2 separate regions of the Homo sapiens genome follow, and region 2 is linked to region 1. The links are contacts of gene promoters, found by promoter capture Hi-C in human tissues and cell types (Jung and others, 2019). All regions are on one chromosome and are shown on one strand. The core of a region is centred on a gene start or on the middle of the fragment in contact, and the rest is flanking DNA. Distances in the headings are between cores, read along the strand shown. Region 1 holds the start of WIPI1 (WD repeat domain, phosphoinositide interacting 1). Region 2 holds the start of ABCA10 (ATP binding cassette subfamily A member 10).

Region 1 (7,150 bases), core at 3,212-5,711:
TAACAACAGATCTGTCTGCAAATAGATGCCTTTTGCCCCCTAGCCTCAGGGGTACAGTAAACAAGCATCTGCAGGAGCTTAGATCCTTGGTAACTTCCTAAATGGTGACGCATGTCTTGACAGGCAGGAAGAGCAAAAGAAAAGAAGAAAAAGTCAAAGGCAACTTAAAAAAAAAAGTGAAATGATCAAGGGGCATGAAACTGCATGAGCTCTGTCATCCAACAAAATGTCAAATCTAGCAGACATGTTTTTCCCACTGGGCAGATAACAGGAAAAATTGAATGTTTAAGAATATTCATAATAGCTGAAAGCTCTACCTCCAACACAACGAGGGGGCCTTCTTGTTGTCTGAGAGGCACTTTACCAGATAAATCAGTTTTTCTTTCCTTCATAACTTTATTTGTTTGTTGCTTATAAGAAGAAACATGCTTTGCTTTTCTTTTCCTTTTTTTTTTTTTTTTTGAGAGGGAGTCTCGCTCTGTCACCCGGGCTGGAGTGCAGTGGTGCCATCACAGCTCACTCCAACCTCCGCCTCCTGGGTTCAAGCAATTCTCCTGCCTCAGCCTCCCGAGCAGTGAGGATTACAGGCATGCACCACCACGCCAGGCTAATTTTTGTATTTTTAGTAGAGACAGGGTTTCACCATGTTGACTAGGCTGGTCTTGAACTCCTGGCCTCAAGTAATCCACCTGCCTCGGCCTCCCAAAGTGCTTAGGCATCAGCCACCATGCCTGGTCTAAGAAATACACTTTCAAAGTAGGCATAGTAGGTCATTAGTAGGTAAAATTTAATAGATGCTTCCTTTCATCAGTTTCCAGAAAAATGTCCTGATACTTCATACTAGTAGCTCTCACACCTGGATGTATATTAAACTCAGCTGGGAAGTTTAATTGGATTTGAAGTTCAAGTATTCTAATGAGCAGCCCAAGTTGGAGAACTCTGCTTTCTACTATATCCTACAAAGCAATCATCACAACCAACAAACAAAATACAAACTAAACATTTATCTAGGACAATCAAAGTGCCTCTTAAAAAAAATCTGGTTCTCTTAATTTTTCATTTTTCAATGAGGAGATAAAGACAGGACGTGAATCCAGATTTTCTTGGCCTTGTGTTGAAAGTAAACATCAAAGTCAACTTTGTTCAGCAGCTGGGAATCCTCACCCAGCTCTTTCCAGCTGTGCCCTCCGCACCTAAGTGATGAACAGAATCTGACCCGGAGCACACTCACAGAAGTGTGCTTCTCTGGAAGGCAAGGTGAAATTCACTCTTTACAGGGAAGCATATACTAAAATAAGCAACTTACTATTACAAGCCTGGATGGCCAAGGCTCTTGTTTCACTAGCCTAAAAAAGAGAAGGTCACATGATTTTCCCTGGAATTTTTTTTCCCTACCCAGACATTTGTTCTTCCCTGGGACACAGGGATAGGGCAACTACAGTAAACTTTTAATCCACAAGGTAGCTGGTGACGTCTCGCAGCCCTCCAACCTGCTAAGTAGCTAAACTGGTGGGTTAGACATTTGCAGCTGTGCACTTAGAACTGGCATTTAGTACCTAGACTGAGGTATTCATGATGACAAACAGCAACTGGAAAAGTAAGCCCAGAGCATCTTAAAACTTCAAAATGTATTTTGTAGTGTTATTGTTTTTAAACTTTCTTCACATAAACTTTTTCACATAAATATAGATGTGTTTGGCTGCGAAATGAGGTTTGTAAAGTTTGCAAGTAAGGAAAGAAATACTGTAACTAGAGTCTTATAACATTAATGCAAAGTGACAGCAATTTAAAGTAATTTTCAAACATAAGCCCTGCTCCTGGACCAGAAGAATTCTACATATGAGAAAATCACAGAGTGATGTTTTATGTGATGTTTTACGTGATTGATCAATGGCCACAAAAGACTCTGAATCAAGGAATTTAGACTTAGACCTTATTTCATCCATAAAGTCTTTCTGTAGAAACAAAATTCTAATCACCACTCATGGAAACAGAGCTTGGGACAAATATTTATCATTAATCAAATTTAAAATGTACCCAAAGTAGGCTGGGCATAGTGTGTCACATCTGTAATCCCAGCATTTTGGGAGGCTGAGGTGGGTGGATCACTTGAGGTCAGGAGTTCAAGACCAAGCTGGGCAATGTGGCAAAACCCCGTCTCTACTAAAAATACAAAAAATTAGCTGAGTGTGGTGGTACACGTTTGTAATCCTAGCTACTTGAGAGGCTGAGACAGGAGAATCGCTTGAACCCTGGGAGGCAGAGGCTGCACTGAGCCAAGACCACACCACTGCACTCCAGCCTGGGTGACAGAGCAAGACTGTCTCAAAAAAAAAAAAAAAAAAAGTACCCAAAGTGTATAGCACAAGTACCAATCACGAAGTATGAGCGTAGGGGACTGGTAAGGGTTTGCTGTTTTCACCTACCTTCTTTGGAAATACTGGATCCCAAATTCAGCCTACATTTATAGAAAAAGACATGGCAATACACCTAAATGTATTCAGTAAGGGGCTTGACTTATTTTAAAATCCAATGTCATACCCTCTGTGGCTCAAAGCAACTGACTGTGACAAGAACTTTTATTTATAGGCAAGGCAAAGCTGCCCAGCAGAGCTTCCATCCAAGAAAATAAAACTAACAGTAGGGAGTAAGGAAATTAACTTTCAAAGCACCCTACCGTTTTGAAAATAACATTCTTATTCAATTTCTGTAGAAAGCTGGGACTTTGCGTTATTTAATGGCTAGAGTATAAATTAACACCCTTTTTTGTCAAATCTAATGATGTTACAAAGCAGAATTTAGAACATTTACTACTTACAAGCAAACTAACCCCCTTTCTTAACTTGTGTTCAATTGGGAAGGAAAACATCACCCAGGCATTTCAACAGCCATGCCCTCTTGCAAAATGTTTCTTACAGAACATCAGGATTTTATCTATACCAGCATTTTTATAAACTGCAGGTCTCAACTCATGAGTGGATCCTAAAACGCAATTCAGTGAGTCACAAGCAGCTTAGAAAAAAAGGACACAGAAAATTGCACATGATATTTTGTGAATAGTGTATGTGTTATGGGTATTGGGTGATGTTGCAATACATATTTCGTATTGTGGATTGTGGTCAAGAAAAACTTGAAAGTCACTCAAATAACCAAGCTGTAGAGCTACTCGATTACATGATTACACATATGGGTTTTTCAAACAAAGGCATATTGTTCAGCACCGGGTGTTTTTAAACAGAAACATAAAGGGAATGGAAGCCAGGGTGGCTAATGGTACATAATGGCCTTAATTACACCACTGAAGGATCAATATTAGCGTAGCTCAGTCACCAGCAGCCAAGGCACAGAAACTGGTACAGCAGGAAGTGGGAAACTGGGAATCGGTCATCCCCGCCTGATGCTCAGGGTGCACATTCCAAAAAGATGATTCCATATGGTCCCCAGGGCTCGCTTCCATGAAAATAGGGAAAGAAACAGGCGTTTGCCTGTAAGTCACAGAATCCTGCAGATGCCTGAAACACACTTCAGCCCAGCTCCCTCTCAAAGCCCAAATGTGAACATCGAAGTAAAACATTAAAAATCCACTCAAAAACAACAGGGTGGAGCTCCTGTTTCCTGGAGAGAAAGCAGTCTGCGCCCGGGAAAAGAGTCTTGGACTCCGAGAAGGAGATCCTGCCTGGCTGGGTGGGCGATGTGAAAACAGCCAAAGAAATCCAAAGGTTTCTTCCATCCAGAGCGGGCAGGCACGATGCCCTGCGTCGGGGATGGGACAGGGGCTGGCCTGGCCGCAGGGATAGGCTGCCTCTTTGTCCGAGGCCCTGCCCAGATGCCACGTTGAGATGCTCAAGGACAAATGGGAAAGTTTTTCCTGTACTCTCATCTTCCTGGGCCCCAACTACAGAGTCCTGGGTCAACTTGCAACTTCCTCTCCTTTCTCATCTCTTTCTTTTGGCCACTGTCTCTCTTCCCCAGACACCCACTTTGGTCACTGGCTTTCCCACCGCCCTGCTCCCCCCATATTCCGTGGCCCCCGCAGCCCCACCACTCCCTTTGCGAACTCCCTGCTTTCACCCTTGGCCCAACCTTGTCGCTCTGGGAGGACACTGGGAGTGGGGTGGGGTGGGGGGTGCGGCAAACCCCACTGAAGGGGTACGGGGATAACAAGATCCCAATGCGTCCGAAGCAGACACCGGCCCTCCCGCCGAGGCCGCCTCGAGGCGGAAGCCACAAGCTGCTCTCAGGACGACACCCCTGGGTCCTGACACTCTGTCCCCCACCTCCCTGGCAGGGGCCGAGTCGCAGCTTACGTGCAGTCCTGGTTGAAAGAGAAGCAGCTGAGCGCCGACTCAACCCCGCCCGGGGGAGCGTCCGCGGCCTCGGCCTCCATCGGGGGCTCGGCCCGGGAAGCCGCAGCTCGGAGCCGGCGACAGCCACCTCAGCAGCCCGCCCGCGCCGGCTCCACGGGCCGGGTCGCCGGTCCTGCCCCGCCCCTACCCCGCCCCGTCCCCACCCCGCCCCTACCCCGCCCCGTCCCCACCCCGCCCCTACCCCGCCCCGTCCCCGCCGCGTCCCCGGCTTCGCCCCGCCCCTTCTCGCCCCTCCAGCTGGTCCCGAGGACCAGAGCACCTGATAGGGCGGGGCCCCTGCCTCCGGCCACCATTGGCCACGAGCCCAAGCCACGGCTGGCGGGCACCGCCCCCCTTGGCCAATCCGTGGCAGCTGTGGGCGGACCCGCCCGGCTGGCGACCCGCCCCTGGCTTCGTAACGCGGCTCTCCATTGGACAAAGGCGCGTGACGCAAAGGCAGCAGGCCCACGTGGCGGTGTTTTCATTGCCGGAGCCGCCCAGCTGGGAGGGAGAGGGAAGAAGGAATGCGGCTGGGGCCAGATCTGCTGGTTTCAGTCCGGCAACTGCGTCGGGGCCGCCGCAAGGGTGACAGGAGGACGCGCTAGTTCCCACCCCGCCCAGACCCCTTGCCATGTGTAACTCTGCCTATTAAACTTACAGAGTTTAGCAGAGAGCGTTAGACTCCAAAGCCCCACCCTTTTGTCGAGTCCTCAAGCCGCATTGAGAGAAGCTCCTGAAATGGGGCTGCCTCAGCCAGAGAGATAGCAAGTTATCTTATCCATTGCCGAGCGGTTGAGAACCCTCACTACTTGCCAAGCGCGCCGTACTATGTATGTCATCTTGAATTCTTATAAAACTTGTGTGGAAAATACGATTGTGCTCAATATACAGAAGAGGCAACTGAAGCTCCAAAGCTAAACAATTTGTCTAAAGTAACAGTAAATGGTAGAATGTCTGCATGTCTGCTTTCAAGACCTGTGCACTAAATAACTGCTAAACAGTAATTTGCAAAAACAACGTAGCACCTAGCATGCGAGATTCTAGGTTTTCTAACCAGGACAGAAATGACTGCAGCATTTGACGGAGCTGGAAGGTGGGGGGAAGCACCTTTGATCTGAAAAGTTACAAAAATGGCACAAAGTATCTAAACAAGACCTATCCGATCCGCAGCTGAAAAAAATGAAAGTGTGTGTAGGGCAGTGTAGTTTATGAAAGGGGTAACGTCTTGAAGATATAGCACAATTCAAAACTCACGTAATTCGAGATAAACCTTAACAAAGAATCTCTTTTTAAAAGCTGAGTACTGTACATGTTCCCATGCGGAATTACTGTCAATACGGTTTATGAAGCAGGAGCTCTGCCAGCTTTGGATTGTATAACTGCTGATGGATTTTTAATTCATTTTTTCAAATTTTGAGATGATATTTTAGTTATTGTTATATGACAGTCTCTCAAATCAGCATAATTCAAATTTATTAGGTTGGTGCAAAAGTAATTGCGGTTTTCCCCATTTCCCACTTTTAATACCCAGTTTATGACAAAGCTACTTTTATGTATGTGTATATATATATATATTTAACCTTGGACCTACAATAGATGAACAAAGGGCACTATTTCACCTAAACCTTTCTGGTTGGATTTCCGGTTTGTGTTTTCTGAGATGCAAATGTAACAGTTTCTTTTCTCAACTTTATTATTTTTTTCTCTCCACTGATGTAAAAAATAGTTCAGCTCATAGATTCACAGATGTTATTGCTCTTTGGCTGATTGTGAGGTGTTGTATAAACTATCAGAAGTGAATGGAACTGCTGTTTAGATACTTTGTGCCATTTTTGTAACCTTTCAGATCAAAGGTGCTTCCCCCCACCTTCCAGCTCTGTCAAATGCTGCAGTCATTTCTGTCCTGGTTAGAAAACCTAGAATCTGGCATGCTAGGTGCTACGTTGTTTGGAGAATTACATGAAGTGTACCATAAAGTTTTTAAAGTGTAAGCTGTTATTATCAGTTTGTTATTAAGAGTTTGGACTTTATGGGATAGACCTGGGAGCTGGTGTTAGTTTTTGAGCAGGAGTGTTTCATGATAAAAAAGCAGTGTCTTTGTCAGATAAACTTGGCCAGGGTGTGCAGAACAAATTAGAAGTGGGAAAAGATCTAGAAGTCTTTAGGGGACTAATGTGAAATTCTGGAAGTAAAGGGACAGGAGAGACTAGGCTAAAGTGATGAAAACAAGGCCAGAAAATTAGACCAAATCATAGAGTTGTTTTCAGGCATTGCTGTCCAGTAGATAAAATGAGCCCCAAATGTGAACTCCACATTGTAAATTTCAGTTTTCTAGAAGATACATTTAAAAAGGTAGAAATAGGCAAATTAATTGGAATAATATCATTTATTTAATCCAATGTGTCAAAAATATCATTTCAATATAAAGATAATCAATATAAAGTTACTAATCAGTTAATTCAGGTTTTAATTTTTTTTTTTTTTGAGACAGAGTCTTGCTCTGTCACCAGGCTCACTGCAACCTCTCCATCCCGGGTTCAAGCGATTCTCCTGCCTCAGCCTCCCAAGCAGCTGGGACTTCAGGCCCCCGCCACCATGCCCAGCTAATTTTTGTATTTTTAATACAGACGGGATTTCACCATGTTGGTCAGGCTGGTCTCACACTCCTGACCTCATGATCCACCTGCCTCAGCCTCCCAAAGTGCTGGGATTACAGGCGTGAGCCACCACGCCTGGCCTCAGATTTTAATTTTTTTTTAGAACTAAATATTGAATATCCGGTGTGTATTTTTCACTTACACCAT
Region 2 (7,150 bases), core at 3,313-5,812, 770 kb after region 1:
TATTCAACTTTTTTTAAAGTAGATATTACTTTAGTGACTAAAATAATTTAAGAATTAAAAGGAAAAATATTTAAAGTAAGCAATACAAATACTCAGAATTTGGTGTTTTCTCTTTTTCTGCCAAGATTATAAACTGATATCACATGAAAATAGTACACTAGAGGTAAATTGTATACAAAAAATCAGAGTACAAAAATAAAAAATATAGTCTACCTACAGATTCTCTGAGGTCAAGAACACTCTCTAAGAATTAAGTGTATAGTAATCAGTGCATAAATGAATGAGTTTACAATCTGCAGGAGTAATCCACCCACTAAGTGTTTAATAGATCTATTACTAACAGAAGCTTTGAAAATCACTGGTCCAATTAGTGCCTCCTTTTTCACGTTTATGTATTATGTTCTAAAAATTTTATTAACTTTGTATCTCACTCAGGGTGAAATCTACATTAAGATGAAAAAGCTGTTTATTTTATGCTGTAGCCATACCTTTCAAAACTCCTCATCCTTCCCAATATAGAGTCAGGCGGTGAAACTTTTATGAGGACAGTGCTAACATCACTGATTTTCTCTAGGGGTATAAAAAATACTGTCAAGGCCAAACCATGAATATTTATGCTAAAAAGCAAGAGTTAGATAAATGTAGAATAAGACAGTGAGAGAGGAGCTGTGGTTGGAACAGGCGAGCATGGTAGCTGGAATGAGATATTTTATATAAGAAAGAGACAGAGTCCAGTGGTCCGTGAGACTAAGACAGAAAGTGGCTATTAGCTTACACTGTGCATACAGGAAGAATAGTCCCTGAGGCTTCAGTAAATGCTTCATGAGTTCAGAAAAAATGAGGTAAATGACTACACAAAGGAAGTGAATAGAGACAGATCAGGGCAGAATCAACACTGTGGTCAGGCAGAACATGTAAACAATGCAAGTAAGGGAGGCCCACCAAAGTCAAAGCTCCAGAAACTGCAATGAAGAATTACAAAACAGGGTAAAGCAGCCAGGGATAACAATACCCATTCGAAAGCTTGGATAGGTTAGGCACAGAATATTAGCAACTCACATAAAATAATTAAAATTCAGAGTTTGGAGGTGTCCCTTGGCATGGCAATCCAGACACCAAAAAACTAAATAAAAGTTTCAGAAAGACAAGAAAAAGCAGTGATTAGAGCTGAGACGTTAACAGATTGGATAAAATGTACAAAAGGATGAAATGGCCAATGTTCAGAACCCTGGCAGAATGAGGGCTAACAACAAGAGAAATTTGATAGTAGGCTAAGATTGCTGAAGAAAAGAACATTTTATCCTGATACTTTCCCTATGCAGGAGCAAAGGCCTCTATGGAGAGTCCAGAGACCACAGCTGACCACCAATAGTTACTCCTAATGGCAGTAGAGATATAAAGGATGGTAGGCAAAGGTCTCACATAGTAAGTAGGACTCTCAGGTGTTCTTATTTCTTTATGAGATGCATACATCAAATTAATGCAGCATCCTACATAACATAGAGACATCTATTTTCTGAGTCCAGATATGCAGAAAAAGTCTTATGGGAAAAAAAAAAAAAAAGCCTCACTACTCTAAGATCAAGGGCTGTGAATTTGTTGACTTTCAGTAGCCAATACCTGATTTGATTTTAAATAATTTTAAATGCCCTGAGCTGTACATTTTAACTATTTTTATACACCAAACAGTAATGCTTTTTCAACACCATTGCTAAGCTTGAGTTTGAATTTCAAACACCTTTGATTTATAATTCCTATATACTGGGAACTATATTTATTTCAATCTCAATTGAAAATAATTAAATCCTTAAAATTTTTTGAAACTCTTTAAATTATAGAATACCAACCCAAATATAAAGTTTTTTAAGTTAAGTTTTGGAAAAGTGAAATTTGTATCATCTAAAATGGGTCCAATCTTTTTTTCCTACTGCAACAATATGTTCTAGTATAAAGGGCAAACGGTATGCATATCATTAAAAACAAACAAACAAACAAAAGTAAATCATTTCATCTGTTGCCCACCTACCCTTAGCTTCACACCAACCCCTGTACTGCATATATAATGAGAATCTTTGCCTCAGTTGAGAATCACTGACACACAGGCTAGGTAAGTAAATTCAACCTGCAAAAAGAACTTGAAAATTAAGTCACATAATACTGAAACATTGGTTATTGGACAACACACCTTTCATAAAGGAAGCCAAGGCCATCTTATTCATTATCCTTTGTGTTATGTTACTGACTGGTGTATATGCCACTACCAGGCCAGAGTCATTAAACTGATCCACGCTTCCCAGGACTTTAGGAGGTTGTTCAGGAAAACGGGTAGCTCTGAAGTGTTCCGAAAAGATGCACAAATATAGCCCTAGAAACAATGTTATTGTCCATTCCTCCAGCACACAAAAGAGAAATGAGCCATGTTATAACGTGGTCCAGACCAGTGAGAAACATCCAAACACATTTTTAAGGCAGAATGTATTGCCATTGAGCATGACTTCATTTCAGTCTGTAATTTTTTTCTGCCCAAATTAATATCTACCTTTTAAAGAAAAAAACACCCTTTCAAAAATACACAACTTTTGAGATAATATCAACAATTGCAATCAATCTTAACCCAGTGATTTAGCACCCCTATTAGTGGGACTGCCATTGATTTTATGCCCTCATATTTGAAGCAACGTAAGTATATGGCATCACACAGAAGATACTCTTGCCAAAAATATTTAACCAGAATTGGATCCTGCTTTTAGATCCAGCTCACTGCTTACAAAAAATATAGATGATAAAGGGATGACTTAAATGACAGCATGGAGAGGCAATCAGATAAAAAGAGAACATGGAATATTCAACAGGATAACTAGTTTTGTCTCATTGGTTCCTGAACAAATCAACCTTAAAAGACATTTTGGGGGAAATTTGGAAAATTGAATTTGGCCATGGAACTAGATGATATGGAATTATTTTTAATTTTGTGTAGTGGGATAGTGGTAATGTAGGGAACCAAGTTCTTAATTTTTTGAGATACTAAAATATTTAGCCATTACATATATTTTAGGGAAGAAGAGGAGACAGAGAGATGAAGCAAAGATGGCAAGATGTTAACAGCTGTCAAATCTGGATGGTGGATGTATAGGTGTTCATTGTACCAATATTTTCACATTTCTGGATTGACATACTTTTTTTAAATTCTAGTGAGTAATAAATATAGATGTATCCTTCTTCAATATACGAAGCAAAATATTTGATCGAACTGCTTCGGAAGCTATTGCAGAAATTTAAAAGGATGATATAAATCCTGTTAGCTCCCACTGAAATGGTACTGACTATTTCTGAACAGACTGCAATCTCTACATGGTCAAGGCAGATCCAGTTATATCTCATAGTAACACAAAGCAATGTCTTAATATTCATGTCAGCATACAAGAAACTCAACAGAATGCAAAGGTATTGACAATCTGTGATCTTATTCCATGAAACCATTCTATGTTTACAAAAAGCACGGCTTTGAAGAGATTCCAAAAAAGTTTGCAGATTTTTACTCATAGATATTTTCCCAGCCTTACCAAATAACATGACATTAATCGAAATGTCCCCAAATAGTATCAGGGTTTGCCCACGTAAAAATCTATTTTATTTTGCCTAGCTTATCTTTCCCCTGGCTGTCCCTGCCCCCAACACAGAAGTTAGCTAAGAGTAAATCAGAATGACTCTGAGATTTGAATGCATTAATTATGTGGAAAATGGCTGGTTCTATTCTGCAAAAGATTATTTTTCAGGAGCTGTCAGATGAGCTTTTTAGTTAATTTCACATTTGACACAAATATTATCCTATTTTGCAAAATATATATCGTTTTGCAGTATTTAGAATCTCAAATCAACTAGCCAGTATGATAATTAAAAATCAGAATTTATAAACAAGAAAAGTAATAAAAATGGCATAATACTATATGGTGGATTTTCATTTATTAATTATGGATATATATATATATATATAGTGAATCATACCAATAAACTCTCTTTTTATTCTCCATTTTTTAAGAAAATTCTTGTACAGAAGAGCCTGAATTTGTTGACGCACGCTTATCTCTTTTTTAACCATTTTGTCCTGTTCATTAACAGGGTAAAGTAAATATTGCAGAGCAATAGCTAGGGGAAAAAAGAAAAAAAAAAAGTTCAGTTACAGAAAGCCTTTGAACATTTTGAAAGCATAATTTTCAGATGTGCCAACTAAATGCCTTATATGACACTGTAGCAACATATTCAATCAGGATTTTAAAAAAGAATATAAAGTATTAGTAATTATAAAATGTCTTCTCAGTTGTTATTTCTCTCCAGGCTTTTATGGCTATGAGGGAGATAAAGGAGATAGTATATAAGACCTTTCTCCTTTTGTCTCAGAAGTCACTTTTTTTCCATGAAATCTTAACATTACATCCACCTAAAGTAAATCCCTCAATAAGATCTTAGTAATTTTTAGAATCCAAAAAACACTTTCTCTTTACTTGTTAAGAAAAAGAAGTTTAACAGGAAGAAACCACTTTGCAGTTCCTTGTCAGTCAGCAATTTGACCACAAGCTGTCTTATTTTGAATTGCACATCTGGGCACATGTATTTGATATCTTGTTAACCACTGGGCAAAGCAAAGTCGAAAACATTACGGCCATTCTTAGAATCCCAAAAAGCTAATTCCTCTTTTTTAAATCTCCATTTATGAAGTAAATATGTAAGATACATACAGATTAAAACCAAAAATATTGGCTAATATGACTAGAGTAATTGATTTGTAATAATGATCCTTATTCTTTGTTTTCAATTTGAAAATCCAGAGCTGATCATTTGGTGTCACAACTATGACTACTGAAGTCCATTTGAATAAATGTTGATATTATATACAAATTACAATGTTCAGAGAGAACTTGCTATATTTCCCCTTTTTCATAAAATAAAAGGCAAAGCCAGCAAAACCCAATATAATCTCTAAATTCTAACTTAAGAAAGTAGAAACATTAAAACACCAATCTTCACTTTATGGATACAGAGGTCTACTTAAACAGCTCCATAAGCAAACCACAAAAACATTTTAAAAGAACAAAAGAACACAGAAAAAAGGAACTTGCCCTAATGCTCACACATTCTAAAGAAGTAAAACCATACAAATTCTCAAAAGGATATTCAAAGCAGTGTCAGAGAGAGAATTTATTGTCTGATAATATTTATATACACCTCTGAATCTAGCCATCTTTCATTTATCACACTAAAATGTTACATAAGTTTTTAAAATAAAATAACTCACTAGTACTATAACATAAAGCATAAAATAATTTAGAGCATCTGAATAATATAATTTTAAAAATTTCAATCAATATGTTTGGCTTTGGCTATATACTTTATATCTTTAAAACCTTATGCAAAGTGAAAATGTAAAACAAATTTTAACTTACAGTTAAGAAAATAAGAGAGAAGTATTTGAAGCACTTGGATCCACTGGTCTCTTTTTGTCCAAGAAAACAATGAAGAATCCTTCAAGGACTCCTCTACAAATGGTTGCCTCTTTTAAAACTGTTTTGATTCAGCTTGGCTTCTGAAAAGCCATGGTCTGTGTGTAGAACATGCCAACAAATTCTGTTGGTTTTTTCCCTATGTTTTTCTCCTTGTCCAGTTACTCTTCAGAGAGTGTAATGAATTGTTGGCTGAGCGCATCATTGGTATTTGTTTATTGCTCTTTTTGGCATACACACAAAAAAAGAGATCAAATTCAAAAAGAAAAACCCACATATTTACAATTGCATGGATAACTACATATTTACAATTGCATGACTTTTAATAATTAAAAATTTGACAGCCAAGCTAAAAAAGGAGCAAATTAAAGATAAAGTTGAACAGAGAGAGAGAAAATGAGGATTGCTCATCTCAGAAATCTGAATCATTCCAATGAGAAAGTTTCATCTGAAAGTTAACTGCATTTCAGTTAAATGGTTCCTTGTATTCACTAATTCCTATGTACTAGAAAGTGTTCTAAGGGTTTAAATGAATTCTCCCATTTGATACTCAAAGCAAACCTACAAAGTTGGTACTCTACTCACATCCATTAAACAAATTTGAAAGGTGGGGCTAACAGGTGAAGTTATTTGCAGATGTTTAAATAAGTGTGAAGCCAACAGATGAGTCCAGAATAGTATCTGGACTCCAAGATCCCTCACTCTTAACTACCACTATGAAAATGGTGCTAATCAAGACAATGATATCTGATACCCATTTAAAAAGTGTAGTGGTATAGACTAGATGGCATAACTTTAATGATTTTGTTACTTTTTTTTCAGCTACAACTAAATTGGATATTCTCAGAATGGCAAATAATGCCTCTTTATCAACCCTGAAAATCTTTTTATGTGATTTTAACTATAATAATACACTTCTTGGTATGCATACAGAAGCTAATGCCCATTCATGAAAGTGACAGAGACAGAAAGGGTAAAGGACTCAGAGACTCTTCAAATGATTACCATTTTCATTAGGAATATGGAAATAAATGGTTCCTTTAATTGTAAATGTCACTAACAACAAAGGAAGCATACTTTAATTGCTTTCCTTTGTTGTTAGTGACATTTCTCTTCCTATTCAGGCAAAATCATTACTAGAAGTAAAAGTTCATGAAATAGAAAACATGAAACTTAACCTGGTTCCGATCCCAGACATTAATGGTAATATTCACTTAAATGGGTGGGGAAAACAATTAAAATCATACTATAATACAGACATACACCCTTCTTAATCACCAAATTTTTAAAATATTTTTTATTTCCATAATTGCTGTGATTTGAATGTCTCCTCTAAAATTCATGTTAAAATTTAATTACCAATGAAACAGCATTGAGAAGTGTAGCCTTTAGAAGTGGTGATTAGGTCATGAGGGCTCCACCCTCATAAATGGATTAACACTATTATCTTGGGAATGGGCTCCTGATAAAAGGATGAGTTAGGCCCAATTCTCTCTCTCTCTGTCTCATGCACATGCTTCCACCTTTCACCTTTCCACTGTGGGATGACCCTCACCAGATATCAGTGCCATGCTCTTGGACTTCTCGGCTTCCAGAACTGTGAGAAATAAGTTTCTTTTCTTTATAAATTACCCAGTCTGCTGGGTACAACT

Evidence for each region. Contacts are between HindIII fragments. The study calls those that stand out against the background at their distance.
Region 2: a fragment that was not itself captured here is called in contact with the fragment with the promoter of WIPI1 in region 1 in 1 of the 25 tissues and cell types used here (liver).

The regions. Positions count from the first base shown.
Region 1 is chr17:68,453,035-68,460,184 of GRCh38, forward strand. WIPI1 (WD repeat domain, phosphoinositide interacting 1) reads right to left here and starts at 4,462. Exons shown (of 13, transcript NM_017983.7): 1 at 4,308-4,462. The coding sequence starts at 4,387. It also overlaps a transcript of PRKAR1A not described here. RefSeq lists silencers at 4,202-4,881, 4,618-4,904. The HindIII fragment of the contact is 15,120 bases long and covers 1-7,150 here.
Region 2 is chr17:69,223,140-69,230,289 of GRCh38, forward strand. ABCA10 (ATP binding cassette subfamily A member 10) reads right to left here and starts at 5,685. Exons shown (of 39, transcript NM_001377321.1): 1 at 5,442-5,685; 2 at 4,006-4,146; 3 at 2,186-2,390. The coding sequence starts at 2,219. The HindIII fragment of the contact is 7,757 bases long and covers 685-7,150 here.